Linked DNA regions of Homo sapiens: region 1 is linked to region 2. The links are contacts of gene promoters, found by promoter capture Hi-C in blood cells and fetal thymus (Javierre and others, 2016). All regions are on one chromosome and are shown on one strand. Each heading gives the region's core, a stretch centred on a gene start or on the middle of the fragment in contact. The rest is flanking DNA. Distances are from core to core; before and after follow the strand shown. Region 1 has its middle 14 kb from the start of FGFR4. Region 2 holds the start of PFN3 (profilin 3).

What was found. The method cuts DNA at HindIII sites, captures the fragments that hold promoters and counts their contacts. A CHiCAGO score of 5 or more calls a contact.
Region 1: a contact is called between a fragment that was not itself captured here and the fragment with the promoter of PFN3 in region 2, in 1 of 17 cell types (erythroblasts). The highest score is 5.2, in erythroblasts.

Annotation. Positions count from the first base shown.
Region 1 is chr5:177,071,357-177,075,259 of GRCh38, reverse strand. It overlaps a transcript of ZNF346 not described here. Among named protein-coding and RNA genes, the nearest start is that of FGFR4, 14 kb to the left of the region's middle. The HindIII fragment of the contact is 2,298 bases long and covers 1,043-3,340 here.
Region 2 is chr5:177,398,648-177,402,596 of GRCh38, reverse strand. PFN3 (profilin 3) reads left to right here and starts at 1,936. Exons shown (of 1, transcript NM_001029886.3): 1 at 1,936-2,488. The coding sequence starts at 2,021. The coding sequence ends at 2,434. It overlaps SLC34A1 (solute carrier family 34 member 1), which reads right to left. Exons shown (of 13, transcript NM_003052.5): 13 at 3,749-3,949. It overlaps F12 (coagulation factor XII), which reads left to right. Exons shown (of 14, transcript NM_000505.4): 13 at 1-47; 14 at 138-456. The coding sequence ends at 305. RefSeq lists an enhancer at 1-627. The HindIII fragment of the contact is 6,138 bases long and covers 1-3,191 here.

The sequences.
Region 1 (3,903 bases), core at 942-3,441, 330 kb after region 2:
GGCTAGTTTTTTTTTGTATTTTTAATAGAGACGGGGTTTCACCATGTTGTCCAGGCTGGTCTTGAACTCCTGATCTCATGATCCACCTGCTTTGGCCTCCCAAAATGCTGGGATTACAGGCGTGAGCCACCATGCCCGGCCAAAATGTAGATATATTTTATTTTTATTTAAAAAAAATTCTTTTTTTTTTGAGACGGAGGGAGTCTTGCTCTGTCGCCCAGGTTGGAGTGCACTGGCGCGATCTCGGCTCACTGCAAGCTTCGCCTCCTGGGTTCATGCCATTCACCTGCCTCAGCCTCCCGAGTAGCTGGGACTACAGATGCCCACCACCATGCCCGGCTAAATTTTTGTATTTTTAGTAGAGACGGGTTTCACCGTGTTAGCCAGGATGGTCTCGTTCTCCTGACCTCGTGATCCGCCCGCCTCGGCCTCCCAAAGTGCTGGGATTACAGGTGTGAGCCAACTTGCCCGGCCAGGAATCCCTCCTCTGTCTGACCTAACTGCCCTCTGCCCTGGAGCTGCTCAGCCTCTATCAATTTTTCTGGCTCTCAGCGAACGTTTTCATTCAGTTGCAAGACACAGAAACTCAAATTCAAACCTGCTTACACAAAATAGTGAATGTACTGGCTCATGCACTTTTTAAAGAGATGAGGTCTGTTGTGCTGCCCAGGCTGGATGTGAACTCCTGGGCCTAAGAAATTCTCCTGCCTTAGTCTCCTGAGTAGCTGGGACTACAGGAGCATGACTGTAAGTCCTGGTGTGAATCAGGCTCCAGAAACAGCTTGATCCTGGTTCCCAACAGTATGGTCAAAACTCATTCTCTCTTCTGTCTTCTTCTCTATGACAGGTGCTCCCTAAGAAGTGACAAAGAAGGCCACTAACAGCTCTGGGCTCGAGACATTCCCACTTGGCAACTTCTCAACTGTTCTGGCAAAAGCCAGGAGAGTGGAGGTCTTCCCCACCCGGACTACATAAGCTGAGGGTGGGGTTTTTCAAAGAAAAGCTTATTATAGGAAGAAGGGTAAACAGACACTAGGAAGCTTCTGATTATTATACCTAGTGATTCTGTGAGCCTTTACTGCACAAACTGTTCCCAAACTTAATTATTTAAAACAATGTATTATTTCTCACAATTCTGTGATTAGCTGGGCTCAGGTGGCAGTTCTGCTTATGCTGTGGATTGGCTATGCTAGAGGGTCTGGGATGTCCTCCCTCACATGTATGGAGCTGGCTGTTGGCTTCTCTCTCTACCTGGTCTGTGGTCGCCACATGGTCTAGCCCAAACTTCCTTTCACAGGGTCAGGAACGGAAGCTGCATGAGCACTTAAGTCCTAACCTTGGAAGTCGTACAGTCATGTTACTGAATTCTCTGATCAAAGCAACTCACAAGACTAGTTCAGATTCAAGAGACTGGGAAATGGACCCCCCCCCTCCCCCGCCCGCCCGATCTTGATGGGAGCAATGATAAAGTCACATTGCAAAAGGACACAGGCACAGGGAGGCAATGATTCATGGGAGGCCATTATTGAAACAATCAACTGTGTTCCACAACTCGCCTCTTCTAGTTCCTTTCACTAAGCCTCCTCCCACCCCAGCAACCTGGCTCCTTTGACCTTCATGACCACTAGAGGATCATCTCCCTCAATAAGTCTTTCCGGCCAGGTGCGGTGGCTCACGTCTGCAATCCCAGCACTCTGGTAGGCCGAGGTGGGAGGATCGTTTGAGCTCAGGAGTTCAAGACCAGCCTGGGCAACACAGTGGGACCTTGTGTCTACAAAAAATAAGATAATTAGCTGGGTGTGGTGGTGTGCGCCTGTAGTCCCAGCTACTCGGGAGGCTGAGGTGGGAGGATCACTTGAGTCAGTGAGGTCGAGGCTGCAATGAGCTGTGTTTGCACCACTGCATTCCAGCCTGTGTGACAGAGTGAGACGCTGTTTCAAAAAACAAACAAAATAAATGTCTTTCCTGTGAAATCCCAGCAATGGTCCCTACCAGACCATACCCATTTTTATTCATTTATTCATTAATGTATTCAATCACCAAGCAGTTATTAAAACATAAGCACAGTCCTATGCTAGGGACCAGGGATGCAGTATCATAAGACCCAATTCCTGCCCTCAAGCAGTTTCTAGTCTAAAAGAAGAGACAGGGAATTAGATCATCGTAACACAGCATATTAAGGGCTATGCTAGAGGGGAACACAGGGCATCTGGGAACACAAAGGGCAGCCAACTTGGCCTTGGGGGCCAGTGATCTCTGGATGAGTGGAGGTCCCCAGGTTGACAAGGGGAGCTGGAGCAAGTATTAGGCAGAAATCTTGGTTGCAAGTTATAGAAACTCAACTGACTTAAAGAAAAGTCATAACTAAAAAGTCCTGGGGGATATTAGCTTCAGGCATAGCTGGATCCAGGTAGTCATCAGAAATGAGTCTCTCCTTATCTGGAGTACAGTGGTGTGATCTCGGCTCACTGCAACCTCCGCCTCACGGGTTCAAGCAATACTCCTGCCTCAGCCTCCTGAGTAGCTGGGACTACAGACGTGCGCCACCACGCCTGACTAATTTTTGTATTTTTAGTAGAGACAGGGTTTCATCATGTTGGCCAGCTGGCCTTGAACTCCTGACTTCAAGTAATCTGCCTGCTTTGGCCTCCCAAAGTACTGGGGTTACAGGTGTGAGCCACCGAGCCCGGCCTCCTCTGTGTTGGCTTAGTTCTGAAGCAGGCTGTCCTTACATGCTGGACACTAACAGCTGAAGACTATGACTGTGATTACTCAGTCGGGTCACAGGCTCACTCCTGGAATCAGAGAGCAGGGCCAGTCCCTCGGAACCACAGGATCTGAGAATGGAGCAGGTTTGTCACCCAAAGGAGAAAAGGAAAAGAAGGGCTGTGGAGCTGGCCTGACATCAGGTGTACTTCTAGACAGGTGACTAAGTTACAGCCCTCAAACAGAGAGGGCCTCCTGAGGGAAATGTCCTGAGGGAAGGGGAAATCGGCCTTGGGAATGAGCAGAAGTGCTAAGATCAAATCTCTCTCCAAGGCTACTTCTTGGTTGTGTAAGCTCTGCAAGACTTTGTCCCTGACTTTCTCCTGTGAAATCAAGTCTTTGCCAGTTGTCCTGAGGGTTAACTGAAATAGCATATACAGGGGCTCGTGAAGTCACCCTGTTCTCTTCCCATTAAATCAAACAGTAAAGTCCCAGGGCTGGTCTACCTTGCTAGAAAAAAGAAGCTGACTCCACCTAGTGGCTAATGGGGTCATTGCACTGAAGAGTTGAACATTTACAGAACTGCGTTCTGATATTCCTAGACAGATGAAGCAGCATATATGAACAGTAAGCTTGGGAGAGACAGGCCGGGGACGGGTCTGCCCTGTCTCTGTAACAGGGCTTTGCACAGGGCAGAGAGGTGAGGTTAGGTGGATGGATGGTCAGAGGGAGAAAGTGTTCTTCCTATTGTATTTTACACTAGTGACTGCTCATCAGAGCATCTGGTTTGGGGGTGGGGACAGCTCATCTGGCAGGGACTGCTGTGAGGGAAGGAAGGGCTTTCTTCTTCTTCTTCTTTTTTTTTTTTTGAGACAGAGTCTCGCTCTGTCGCCCAGGCTGGAGTGCAGTGGCACGATCTCAGCTCACTGCAAGCTCCGCCTCCCGGGTTCATGCCATTCTCCTGCCTCAGCCTCCCGGTAGCTGGGACTACAGGCACCCGCCACTACGACCAGCTAATTTTTTGTATTTTTAGTAGAGATGGGGTTTCACCGTGTTAGCCAGGATGGTCTCGATCTCCTAACCTTGTGATCCGCCCACCTCAGCCTCCCAAAGTGCTGGGATTACAGGCGTGAGCCACCGCGCCTGGCGCCTGGCCCCTTTTTTCTTTCTTTCTTTTTTTTTTTTTTAAGAGGCTCC
Region 2 (3,949 bases), core at 687-3,186:
GCATGCTCTGCGCAGGGTTCCTCGAGGGCGGCACCGATGCGTGCCAGGTGAGCTCTTAGCCCGGTTGGCGCCCTTCCCCGAGGCCGTCAGGCACAAATCTCAGGTCCACAGCGCTGAGCTGCGTGTTTCCGACCCAGGGTGATTCCGGAGGCCCGCTGGTGTGTGAGGACCAAGCTGCAGAGCGCCGGCTCACCCTGCAAGGCATCATCAGCTGGGGATCGGGCTGTGGTGACCGCAACAAGCCAGGCGTCTACACCGATGTGGCCTACTACCTGGCCTGGATCCGGGAGCACACCGTTTCCTGATTGCTCAGGGACTCATCTTTCCCTCCTTGGTGATTCCGCAGTGAGAGAGTGGCTGGGGCATGGAAGGCAAGATTGTGTCCCATTCCCCCAGTGCGGCCAGCTCCGCGCCAGGATGGCGCAGGAACTCAATAAAGTGCTTTGAAAATGCTGAGAAGGAAAGCTCTTTTCTTCATGGGTCCCGCCGGGAAATGCCAAGACAGAAAAGCGATTCACAGCTTCTCCACAGCTCTCAGAGAACAAGGTCTATGAGATCTTAACGTGCAAAATCTAGATGCCAGCCCAGCTAATGTTTACTGAGCCTAGGATACTGTATACCAAGCCCTGTGCAAGGAGAAGCTGCATGTTATTCCTTATGAGAAACTAACATTTTGTTTACAGAGCAGTAGTTCTCAGACCATACATTAAGATCACTTGGGGAGCGTTTTGAGCCAATCTATGCCCAAGTTCCACCTCAGACCAATTAAATCAGTATGTCTAGGGATGGGGCATGGGTAGTGGTATATTTGTAAAACTCCCCAGATAATTCCATGTACAGCCAAGGTTGAGAATCGTGGTTAGAAATACTTAGCATTGGCCGGGCGCGGTGGCTCACGCCTGTAATCCTAGCACTTTAAGAGGCCAAGGCAGGTGGATTGCTCAGGAGTTCGAAACCAGCCTGGGCAACACGATGAAACCCCGTCTCTACTAAAATACAAGAAATTAGCCGGGCACGGCGGCGTGCGCCTGTAGTCCCAGCTACTCAGGAGGCTGAGGCAGGAGAATCACTTGAACCGGCAGGAAGGAAGGAAGGAAGGAACAGAGGGAGGGAAAGAGAGAGACAGAAAGAAAAGAAAAAAGAAAATAGAAAAAAAGAGCATTGACTGTGGCGTGGACCCTAAGGGCTGGGTGACATATCGTTGTCCCCACCCCAACACGCACTAGTGTAGTGGGTCTGAGAGTCCCTTGGCTAGCAGTACCATCACCAGGGAACTTGTTACACATAACAAATTCTCGGGCTACACTTTATACTGCTGAACAGAAAGTCTGGGGTGGGGCCCAGCAATCTGTTTAACAGCCTTGCGGGGGATTCTGATGTTCTCTCATGCTTAAGAACCACAATCTGGGGGTTGAATGGTTGGTTCCCTTACAAGTGAAGGTCTGGCTGTCCAGACACAACATCCTTTTTTCACAAAACCAGCTTTTTAAAATTAAAAATAGATTGGCCAGATGCGGTGGTTCACGCCTGTAATCTCGTCACTTTGAGAGGCTGAGGCGGGAGGATTGTTTGAGCTCAAGACTTCCTGACCCGCCTGGGCAACATAGTGAGACCTCATCTCAAAAAAATTTTTTTTAATTAAAATTTGTTTTTGCTTTTTTAGAGACGGGGCCTCGCTCTGTGGCTCAGGCTGGCGTGCAGCGACACGATCCTATAATAGTTTACTATAATCTCGCTACTGAGTTCAAGCGATCCGCCCGCCTCGGCCTCCCAAAGCGCTGGGATTACAGGAGTGAGCCGCTGCGCTCTGCCAAACCCATCCTACAGGATAACCTTAGAACTGCGACAGCACTAAACGCCCACGCCCCACGTGCCCCAGCCTGGGTGGTCGCTCCGGGACGGCGCCTTGTGTGACGTCACAGCCCCGCCCAGCCTGCCTCACAGCGCCGCAGGCCTTCCCCGCGTGGCGCCTCTATATTTCCCCGAGAGGTGCGAGGCGGCTGGGCGCACTCGGAGCGCGATGGGCGACTGGAAGGTCTACATCAGTGCAGTGCTGCGGGACCAGCGCATCGACGACGTGGCCATCGTGGGCCATGCGGACAACAGCTGCGTGTGGGCTTCGCGGCCCGGGGGCCTGCTGGCGGCCATCTCGCCGCAGGAGGTGGGCGTGCTCACGGGGCCGGACAGGCACACCTTCCTGCAGGCGGGCCTGAGCGTGGGGGGCCGCCGCTGCTGCGTCATCCGCGACCACCTGCTGGCCGAGGGTGACGGCGTGCTGGACGCACGCACCAAGGGGCTGGACGCGCGCGCCGTGTGCGTGGGCCGTGCGCCGCGCGCGCTCCTGGTGCTAATGGGCCGACGCGGCGTACATGGGGGCATCCTCAACAAGACGGTGCACGAACTCATACGCGGGCTGCGCATGCAGGGCGCCTAGCCGGCCAGCCAGGCCGCCCACTGGTAGCGCGGGCCAAATAAACTGTGACCTGGGCGCGGCTGGCTCCTCCTCCACTTGCGCGGTGGGGGGAGTTGTAAATAAGGAAACTGGTCTTTGCAAGACGGTTACCTGGTGGAGCCGGGATTTTGAGTCTAGAGGCTGCCAGGCCCCTGTGCCCTACACCCTGCTCTCCCATGGACGCCTTGCAGAGGCTCCTGGCCTGACTGCTGCTCCTTGGCGCGTTCCCAGGGTCCTAGGGACTCCGCAGCTGAGGAAGAGTCCAAGGGTGGGGGCTTCTCAAAGTCTGTTTCAGCCTTAGCGTCCTTTCTCAGAGATATTCCCACACATTAGGCAGGACAAGTAAAGGGAGCCCCCTCCCCATCCCGCGAACACCTCTCCCCATCAGGGTGTCAGGCTGGAGGCCAATTTGCTCCTCCCCCCTCCACTCATACCTCAAGCACTAGCAAGTTGTGAGTGGGTGACAGGATGGGCTTGGTGGCTTGTAAAGCAGTTCTGGGGCTCACAGGCCTCTGCATCTCTGCCCACATTCCTCCAAGGGGAGCCTACTGAGAGGGCTCATGTCCAAGACCATCGCAATTGGGTTTGAGACCTTACATCCTGCCTTCCCCAGGCCTTCGAAAAGGCCCCGCAGGAGTCCCTGGACTAGAGGGAGGAACTCTGGCATCCCTACCCGGGAGTCTCACTCTGCAGGCCTCAGTTTCAGGGTGACCTATGGAGGAGGGGGAATTGAAAAGCTTGGGTAAGTTTGAGGCCTGGTTTATTGCCCAAAGATAGTGGACAAAAGTGGGAGGGAGGGTGTCTGGTCCCTGCCCTCCATGTGCTGGGGCCCAGGGCATGGCCTCTCTTGCCCACCCCCACCCTTCCCGTCCCCTCCCCCAGCGGCCCTGATGGCAGACCCCACCTGTCACTTATTCTGGAGCCCTGATCTTATCCCAGCAGGAAGGAGTGATGTGTGGCTGAGGTGGGTGAATTTAGAGGGCAGAGGGAGACCAGAGGAAGTTCAGCCAGGTGGGGGTCAGGGGGTGGGGGTGCAGAATCCTCCTTACACTTGCCTTGGGGGTGGCCCCAGGCCTAGGAGGGGCTTCCAGGGAGTTTGAATTGTGGTTTGGACTCACTAAGGTAGGGCCAGGCAGATGGTTGGGGTGAGCCTGCAGGGCTGGCTTCTCTGGAACTGCACCTGGCCTGGGCAGGGCAGGCTGCTCTTGCAGCCAGTCTTTGAGGGGAGATGGTGCTGCTGAACCCCCTGGCTTGGTCTTCCCTTTGCCATTGATGGAGAGCAAAAAGACTTCCGAATGCCTGAGGAGAGTTTTAATTCCTTTGTTTTTTTTCCATCAGGCAAGTGTTGGGAAGGGAATTAATTGTGGTGGTGCCGAAGACCTGGGTTAGGATGAGGAGATGGTATCTTGGAGGAAGGAAGGTGGCAAGGAGGTGTGCAAATTCAGTAACGCAGGCACCAACATCTATGCACAAACAGCTGCACAGTCATATACCCAG